Regions from separate parts of the Homo sapiens genome. Here all the other regions are linked to region 3. Evidence: promoter capture Hi-C in 16 types of primary human blood cells and fetal thymus (Javierre and others, 2016). All regions are on one chromosome and are shown on one strand. The core of a region is centred on a gene start or on the middle of the fragment in contact, and the rest is flanking DNA. Distances in the headings are between cores, read along the strand shown.

Region 1 (3,232 bases), core at 304-2,803, 170 kb after region 3:
CTTTCATCACAGGACTCTGAGGATAGTCTAGGCCATCATCTTTTCTAAAGTGATGCAGCTAATAAGTGGTAGAGCCAGACTTAAAATTCTGGTTTGCCCGTCTCCAAATCCATCACTCACGTGTGCATGTCTAGCTTTCTGTTCTGCTTCAGGAGAGGCCTAAAACTGTAGCTGCCCAATTCCTCCCCATGCTTGGAATGAATCATAGTCATCATCCTCAAATAGTAAGATACATTTTTAAAAATAAAAGATATTAAATGAGTATGTTACGTTGCTCAGCTCAAGTTTTGAGACATTTAGTGGAGTAATTTAATTTGAAAGTCTAATTTTCCAAGAATTGTATCATGCTATAATTGTATTTAAAAATATTTTAAAGACAATACATAATCAGTGTTTATTAATTATCCAGTAGCATTATCCTTTCTTAATCTAATCCTAGATAATTTAGTGGAAAATCTATGTGTATAGATTGCTATAATTTGCCCTCCTCTTAATATAACCCTATCTGGACATAAATATATCAACTACAGTGATGTCATTTTTTTCTTTTTGTTTCATTTTTTAAAAAATTTGAAATTGGTGGGGTGCAATTACAGAAGGTAGTGATTAACTGTTAGTCACATTAAAAAAACTTCTGAAACTTAATTTAAAATTTTCATAAATAAATTAAAGGATTGCATTTATTTCTATGATTGAAGTCAGTGCTACATTTTCTTCCTTATACAGTGGAGACACTAAAAAAGAGGCTAGAAAGAAGATTCAAAAAAGGAAGATAAGTCATTATATAAAACTGATAATTGCACTCATATGTTTATCACAGCACTATTCAGAACCGTAAATATATTAGATTTAATCTAACTGCCCATCAACAGTTGATTGGATAAAGGAAATGAAATACTATTCAGCCATAAAAGGGAATGAAATTATGTCTTTTGCCTCAACGTGGGTGGAACTGAAGGCCATTATTTTAAGTGAAACAACTCAGAAAGAGAAAGTCAAATACCTCATGTTCTCACTTGTAAGTAGGAGCTAAATAATGTGTACACATTGACATAGAGTATGAAATAATACACGAGATACTTGGAAGGGTGGGACGGTGTGAGGGGTGAAAGCTGAGAAATTACTTAATGGGAACAATGTACGCTATTCAGGTGATGGTTACACTACAAGCTGAGACTTCACCACTATGTGATATTCATGTAGCAAAACCGCATTTATACCCCTTACATTGATACAAAGAGAAAGAATCTCTGCTGACCCCTTTTGAATTCTGTAACTTCTGTAGCTTTCCAATTAACTGACTTGAGTGGGTCTAACAGTTTAGAGCTTGGAAATGTTACAGCTTCACCATGATGTGCTACTCTCTTTTGGCAGGTTACCATAGTGACAACAGTATGTTAATTTCAACAGTGATATCTTTTTAATTTATAATAAAATATGATATTAATGAGGAATTTTATAAGGCTTTTAGAGTGGTAAAAACGGTAAATAGACATAGTCTATTTGGCCTTACTTTTAAAAATTCTTTTCAGTATACGTTGCCCTACATTTGTGCTGTACTGTCATATTTACTAAGTATATCGTAAATATATTGCATTGATTCTTTTCCATATTAAAGAATTAAACTTTAGGCAGGACTTAATTAGGTGTGCATTCTTTTCAACCTCTAGATTGCATTTTGATGAACTTCTTAGATATTCGATTAGCAAGAGAATGATTTGCATAAAGCATATTTACACTCCATGGGCCACTGCAGAATCACTTGGTATTTTCCCTGCTAAATTAATAGTTCCACTTATTGTTGTACTAGGGGACAATGAAGTTGTATAATTGGAAACTGGTAAGATACTTTATAGCTTATTAGCTTTAGGTAATTATCTGCATGTTATATTATGCACTGAATTGTAATTGAAAATATTGCATTGTAATATTTAGGAGAAGTGGCAACCAAAAATAGTTAAATTGTTATAGTAACCATTGACTTGCAATGAAAATGAACAGGTTTATTGAAAGACATTTCTGTAACTTGAAAACAGTGTGTTCCTTTTTGATAACTATTCTTTTTCTCTTGTTTCTTTTTTATTTTTATTTATTTATTTTATAATTTGCTGCTTGCCATTGCAGGAAGTAGAGGTTTGTATACAGCTTCTGTGTTTCATATTTAATTTTAGATTTTATATGAACCCTTGCGTTTTAATTACTTGTATACACTCAATTCACATTATTTTCCCCCTTAGGATGATTATTTCCGCACTTGGAGTCCAGGAAAACCCTTCGATCAGGGTAAGAATCTAACTATTTTAAAATAAAAACCTTTACATGTTCATAATCATTGTACTTTTAGAAATGATATTTACTGTCTGGTTAGGCTTGAAAATACTAAATAGAAGAGCTTACATGAATGGAAAAATTTGTGCAATAATTACTTACATTTCAGCATAATATTTTTAGAAGTAAGCTAATTAGTTATCATGATTATGTCAGGATGTCTTTTATTTTTAGATACATGTTTTAGATGACTGATTTGGGCTTCTGAACCTTACCAGGTTTATTTTTATCAGTAGATACAAGTCACTTCATCCAGTTTTCAAGTACATTCACTGGGCAATAGATTTATTTGTACAAACTTTTAAAACAAATGGCTTTTTTTGCCTCTTTTCCAATTAATAAAAGGTTTCCTTTAAGACTAGTAAATTAGTAATTAGACTCAGCTGGGGTCTTAACAAGCCCCAAAAGGAAACGTGTTATACAAAATTAGGGCTTCCCCACCTCCTTTCAAACAGTTTGCAATTCTGATTAACTTACCTTTAAAAGGAAAACAAGAAATAGGGATGAAAATGAAAATACTTCTACATGTGCAATGAGAATGGACACATCAAGCCCCAAGCAATCATAGTTACATAAATGACTAAAGAGATTTGTTTACTAAAGTTCACATTTAAAAAGTATCTTACTTTTAAAGTTTCTTTTTGTAACTTTCTGTAGTCTCTGCAAAGTAGAAAAAAAATTTCTTCTTTACATAGAGTATATAGTAACCGTGCAAAAGATAATACTTTGTGAAGTAGTCAGACTTAAAAATAGAAGTTTTTGTAAGAGTGTTTAGTAAGTGATTAGATGATGAAGACACAATATGTTATTTAAAGGAGCTCAGAGTATTTTGCTATGTTACCAGATTTTTACTTAATATTTGGGGTGACTGCTACAACAACCAAGCTGTATGAGTGAGAAACCA
Region 2 (3,167 bases), core at 44-2,543, 190 kb after region 3:
AAATTTTAAAATATTTTGAATTAAATAAAAGTGAAAACAAATTATCAAAATTTGTTTGTGGCGTGCAGTGAAAGCAGTGCTTACAAAGAAGTTTATACCATTGAATGCATACATGAGAAAATAAGAAAGATCTAAAATCAGTCTTACAGGCTCTTAGTAAACTTGAAAAGAAATTTAAGTCTGAAGTAAGAAGGAGAAAAAAATAATAGAGTAAAAATCAATTAAATTGAAAAAAGGAAATCAATAGACAACAAAACCAGAAACTGGTTCTTTGAAAAGGTCATTAAAATTGACAAAACTCTAGCCAGGCTAAGAAAAAAGAAGGGTCACAAATTACTATTATCAGAAGTGAAAGAGACAAAATAGCTACAGATTTCATGAACATTAAAAGGATAATAAGTAAATATTATGAACAACTCTGTGCCCACAAATTTGGTAACTTAGATGAAATGGACCAATTATTTGAAAGACACAATCTGCTAAAACCTGAAAAAGAAGAAATAGTCAATTTTAGTAGACTGATATCTATTAAAGATGTTGAGTCAAAAATTAATAACCTGTCAAAACAAAAAATATGAAACTCAGTTGGATATACTGGTGAGTTCAAATCAACCTTTAAAGAAGAATAAAACAATTCTCCGCAATTTTTTAGAAGATAGAAGAATCAAAGGAAATACTTCCTAACTCATCCTAAAAGGCCACCATCATGCTAATATCAAAATCAGACAAACACATTACAAAGAAAAGAAAACAAACACTGTAGACTAGGATCTCTCATAACATGGGTGCAAAAGTCTTCAATAAAGTATTGGCAAATCCAGTCCAAAAATGTATTATAAGATTAATGCACTACAATCAAGTGAGGTTTATCTCGGGAATGCAAGGCTGGCTCAATATAATTCAAAACCAGTTATCCCAACACATTAAGAATATAGAGAAGAAAAAAAATTACATAGTAACATAAAGAGATGGAGAAAAAGCATTTAACAAAATTCAACACCTATTCATGATAAAAACTATGTATAAAGTAGGAATAGAGGTTGACTTCTGCAACCTGATAAAGAACATCTATAAAAAACCTGTAGCTACCATCATACCTAATTATGAGAAACTCTAAGCTTCAGGAATAAGAATGTTCCTTTTCACCACTGCTTTTCAACTTTATAACGAAAGTCCTAACTAATGCAATGAAACAGAAAAGGAAGCAATGATATACAGATTGAAAAGGAATAAATAAAACTGATTTTGTTCCCTGGTGTCATTGATGTAGAAAATCCTAAAACAAAACCTCCTGGAATTAATAAAGATTATAACAAGGTTGCAGAATACAGAGCTATCATACAAAAGTCAATGGCCTTCCTATACTTCAGAACAAATGGGATTTTACATTAATGCAATATCATTTACATTAGTACCCTCTAGGATGAAATACTTAGGTATAAATCTAACCAAATATAAACAAGCTTTCTATAAGAAAAGCAGAAAACACTGATGAAATAATGAGCTATCAAGCCACAGAGGAATGAAAGATGCAGACTACTAAGTGAGAGAAGCCAATGTGAAAAGTCTCCATGCTATATAATGCCACCTAAATGACATTCTGCAAAAGAGAAAACTGTAGAGACAGAAAAAGTGATGAGGTTGCTATTGAAGAGAGAACCAGTGGTGTGTGCCTCACCAAAATTCCACCATCTCTTAAAAAACAGGATAATCTGCTGCCAGTAATAAGTAAACATTAGTGAATAGCAATGATCAGGGGCACACAAATAACTACCCCTTAACCCACTTATTGGCATGACTTACTTGACCCTTAGGTATCAACCTAAAGCCCTTATAAAGCATCTGGAAGTAAACTTGGTTGATTATTCTATTTTATCTAAAAATTCTGTGAACATGTTCAGAAACACTTGATCATTTTTGAAGATGTTCTAATGAAAGCCTTTTTAACCTTAAGAGGGATTTATTGTTTTTCCTTTATAGGGGGTGGTGTAAGTATAAAACTGTCCTAAATATGAATTACTTTTCAGGTTTCTCTTTTCTTCCACACACAAATTTAAGACATATTTGGTAAATCAGAGTTTTCTGATCAGTCTACTCATGAAACTCAACTAGGTAGGACTTTAACAGACAAAAGTATGAACACCAGGCCTGTCTACTACATCATTAGCTCCATGCCTGGATCTCTGAACTTTATAGTTTCACAAACTCCACATCATATGTATTTGATCCAGACATAGTTTAAGTTAAAACAATTACATAACAATTACATAACATATCCTATTTGTTGTTTCTGTTCCTCTAATTCAGTATTCTATAAGCAGCAGTTACAGTCAGCCCTCCTTAACCATAGGTTCCACATCCAAGGATTCAACCACAGATGGATAGAAAATACCTGCATATGGGTTGAATCCCCTGATTCGAAACTCATAGATAAGGAGGCCTGACTAAAGGACTTGGGCATCTGCAAATTTTTGTGTCTTCTGGAGATCCTGGAATCAATTCTCTGCCAGTGCTAAAGGATGACTGTACATTGTGTTATCTGTTATGTTTGGATAGCTATTGCTACACTTGATATATCTAATGAAAGGATTAAATAAAATTCTAATAGGAGGGAAAATGGAATTTTGAATATACTTTTATTTCATTCAAATCTAAACATGAAATTGTTTAATGCAATGCTTATTATTGAGGAAGTTATTTTAAATCATATTTATAATTTACATTTTACCATTTTTTCATTTAATTTTTATTTGTAATTAATACATAAAATTGTATATATTTATGAAGTTCAGTGGGATGTTTTAATGCATGTATACATGGTATAATGATCAAATCAGAGTAAATACCATGTCCATCACTTTAAGCACTTACCATTTCTTTGTGGTGGCAGCATTCAAAATACTTCCATCTATCTTGAAACATACAATACATTGTTATTTGCTGTAGTCATCCTACAGTATAATAGAATAGCAAAGCCGAGTTTCACTTCTGTCTTGTTAGTGATTTTGCCCCTTGTTAGAGCATTTTCAGAGTATTTTTCACATACATTTTTTCATTTGTTCCTCACAAGAAAAATCTTTCAAAATTTGTAGGGGGAGTAGGATTGTTGCTAATTCTAACACAAGAACAAACTGGGAATAATTTAGGGTTTGATTTGCACAGATTAC
Region 3 (3,034 bases), core at 44-2,543:
TGAGTTTGGTCGTTTTGTTAATATAGATTGCAAAATGTTAGACGAGATTGATATGGAAAATGTGTACTGCTGCTATTCGAATAGCTTCTGAAGTTTTGGAGGCTACAAGAAATGTTCAAAGGTCGTAGCTTTGGGAGATGTAGTTTTGGCTGAAATCTCTAATAATTCAAATAGAGATTCATAATGTTATTGCAGTCTATTGGCTTGCAGACATTTCTTGATTTATGTGTAATATTCACTTCACCTAAATTCTCTAAATATGAGAGATTCTCTGTATCAGATTTTCTCTACAAGGGGCTAATTACTGATTTCCTTCCAGTTTATTTAGAATATGTAGAAACGACATGGAAAGCCAAATATTTTGTCATAAATGGAAGTTTGGAATACAAAATTGGTGTTCGGGCTTCAAAACTGTCTTATTTTGCAGGAGGGAGACAGTAGGCTTTTAAAGTTTCCGATTCAGGTTCTACGTTCTAAAATAAAGCTGCCAGGGAGTTTTTATAAAGGGAAAAATGCAGCTACAGTATGTAGGAGATATAGGTGTTCTCAAACGCCCTACCTCGTTATGCTTCTGTCTCTCAAAACAAAACACACACACACACACACACACACACACACACACACAAAGGAAAAGAAAAAAAGAAACTGCAACCTTTAACATGAAAGTTTGCTGTCGGTAGTAATCCAGAAGCTCACAGCAAACTTTAAATTTTCTGAAATTAAACAGATCTCCCAAGACCTTGTGGATAGATGGCCTTTCTTTAGGGAGGAGCTGAGTTCAGGAGCTTTACAGGGTAGGAAGTCCAGGTATTCTTATTTATTAATGCATAAAGTTTTCCTCAGATCTTGTTTCTCACGTCTGCCTGACAACCCTGGAAATTGTGGAGCAGAGGCAACTGCGAGAGATAGTACACTTTGTGTTAAATCCAGGAGCAGAGAATGAGCAGGCTGTCTCGCGAACATGAGAACCTCTTCTGGAGGGGAGAGGTTACAAAGCAGATAAGGATTCCTAGGCTAGGAGCTACCTCGTCCTCTGGCTCCAGCCAAGCGTCCTATCCGGAGCCAACTGTAGCTGGGATCCAGCGAGAGGAAGGTGGGATAGGAGGAGGTGGAAGAGGAAAAAAACGGAGGTCGGGGAGGGAGGGGGAACGGAGGGGAGTAAGCTGGAGATCCGCGCGCGAAGGGAGGGTGGAGATGGGGGGAGCGCGCCGGGCGCAGGGAGCTGAGTGGACGGCTCGAGACGGCGGCGCGTGCAGCAGCTCCAGAAAGCAGCGAGTTGGCAGAGCAGGGCTGCATTTCCAGCAGGAGCTGCGAGCACAGTGCTGGCTCACAACAAGGTGATGTGCCAGGAAGCGGTTTTGTGCCCGCTCGGGCTGCTGCGGCTGGGGCTTGCTTCCTTATACCCACCTCTCCTCCTCTGGGTCTGCGTGTGTGTGAGTGCCCGGCTTTTGGGGGTAAAGCCTGCGGGGAGGGGACACGCTTGCCTCTGCTTGTCTCCTCCTCCCTCTACCCTCGTCGTTGCTAATGCATGTTTTCCAGGGTCGCTCCTGGCTTCGTACCCCTTATTTGACACTGACATGCCCCCCCACCCCCCGTTGTGTCTCCTCTCCCAGATGCTCAAGGTGTCAGCCGTACTGTGTGTGTGTGCAGCCGCTTGGTGCAGTCAGTCTCTCGCAGCTGCCGCGGCGGTGGCTGCAGCCGGGGGGCGGTCGGACGGCGGTAATTTTCTGGATGATAAACAATGGCTCACCACAATCTCTCAGTATGACAAGGAAGTCGGACAGTGGAACAAATTCCGAGACGTAAGTTCCGCGCACCCACATCCCCGGGCACACGCGCGCGCTGCTCCGAGGCGGGGGCCGCGGCCGCCGGATGTGGGTGGGGAGTGGGCTCCGTTTTCTGAGGAGAGGGGTTTAGGGAAACGCGGCGGCGCAGGGCTGCTGGAGAAGTTCACAGTTCCGCTGCCCCCTCCCAGCTGGTTCAAGGGCTTGTTTCTTGGATGCACAGGAGTTCAGGTCTCACCAGGTTCACACTCTTCCTCCCCCACCCTGCTCTCCCCTGTGCCCCCTCCCGGCCCACAAAGGTTACAAAGTGCTGGCTCTAACCTCTCAACTTTTGAATGGTGTTTCTGGCACTGGTAAACACAGCAGATGTGCCTTTGCGATGTATCGCTACTAAAGTAACTAGGATCGATCCTGTCACTAATGGTCCATTAAGGAATTTGAGGGAGGAGGTAGGAAGATGTAAGATTTATAAATGCCCGCTCTCCAAGGGTGGGAGGATGTTTGGCGGCACCAGTAAGGACTCGTTGAACGCTCCCGCTTACATAAAATTGTCGATCAGATTTGTGCTTCGACATGACTTTAATCTAGAACATCTTTGCAATGCATTTGATTATATTTTATTCCAAAATGAATCACTGCCTTGAACTCTGCGGGAAGAGGTTGCGAGGGCGGGAGGATTGCAGGTGACAGCGATAAAAGAGTTAAACCATAGACTCCCCTGGGGAGTTTTCAAAAGGGTTATTAAGAGGGAGCCAGGTTTCCACACTTGAAGCTAGTGGCCATGGCTTGCCAGTCATTTTTATTTTCCTCACCTGATCTGAATGGAGCCCAGTAAGAGCTGCTCACGTACAGAGCACGATACAACTGGAAGCCTTGAATTTGGTTGTCCCAGTGAGGAGGCCGCCCTGTTGGCTGAATACCGCCCCTAGCCCACCCTTTAAAACGCGGAAGGCCTGAACTGGAGCGAGAGTGGTTCCTAGACACATTGCCAATCCTTACCGTGACATTTGAGAGAATTTCTCGTGGAGTCCATCTGCAGTGCACTACGTGGAGATGAGTTAACTTCTTTCATCAGCTCCGACTCAGTCACCATTTAGGAAAATAAAAGGGAGCCTAGGCTAGCTTTCATCCTGCCTCCTCTAACCCATTCTCTCAGCCTCTCCATGAAGTAGCTGACAAGCCAAATCTAGCAGAGGGATTCCTGAAGAAACACAAATTTTTACTTTAAAATTAGGTTTAGCCATTTGATT

What was found. The method cuts DNA at HindIII sites, captures the fragments that hold promoters and counts their contacts. A CHiCAGO score of 5 or more calls a contact.
Region 1: a contact is called between a fragment that was not itself captured here and the fragment with the promoter of SPOCK3 in region 3, in 1 of 17 cell types (monocytes). The highest score is 5.0, in monocytes.
Region 2: a fragment that was not itself captured here is called in contact with the fragment with the promoter of SPOCK3 in region 3 in 1 of 17 cell types (monocytes); the score reaches 6.4 in monocytes.

Annotation. Positions count from the first base shown.
Region 1 is chr4:167,061,543-167,064,774 of GRCh38, reverse strand. SPOCK3 (SPARC (osteonectin), cwcv and kazal like domains proteoglycan 3) reads left to right here. Exons shown (of 11, transcript NM_001040159.2): 3 at 2,238-2,283. Among named protein-coding and RNA genes, the nearest start is that of SPOCK3, 170 kb to the left of the region's middle. The HindIII fragment of the contact is 4,466 bases long and covers 1-3,232 here.
Region 2 is chr4:167,041,482-167,044,648 of GRCh38, reverse strand. All of the region lies in intron 3 of SPOCK3 (SPARC (osteonectin), cwcv and kazal like domains proteoglycan 3), which reads left to right. Among named protein-coding and RNA genes, the nearest start is that of SPOCK3, 190 kb to the left of the region's middle. The HindIII fragment of the contact is 345 bases long and covers 1,121-1,465 here.
Region 3 is chr4:167,232,753-167,235,786 of GRCh38, reverse strand. It overlaps SPOCK3 (SPARC (osteonectin), cwcv and kazal like domains proteoglycan 3), which reads left to right and starts at 1,293. Exons shown (of 11, transcript NM_001040159.2): 1 at 1,293-1,337; 2 at 1,614-1,802. The coding sequence starts at 1,614. The HindIII fragment of the contact is 4,219 bases long and covers 1-3,034 here.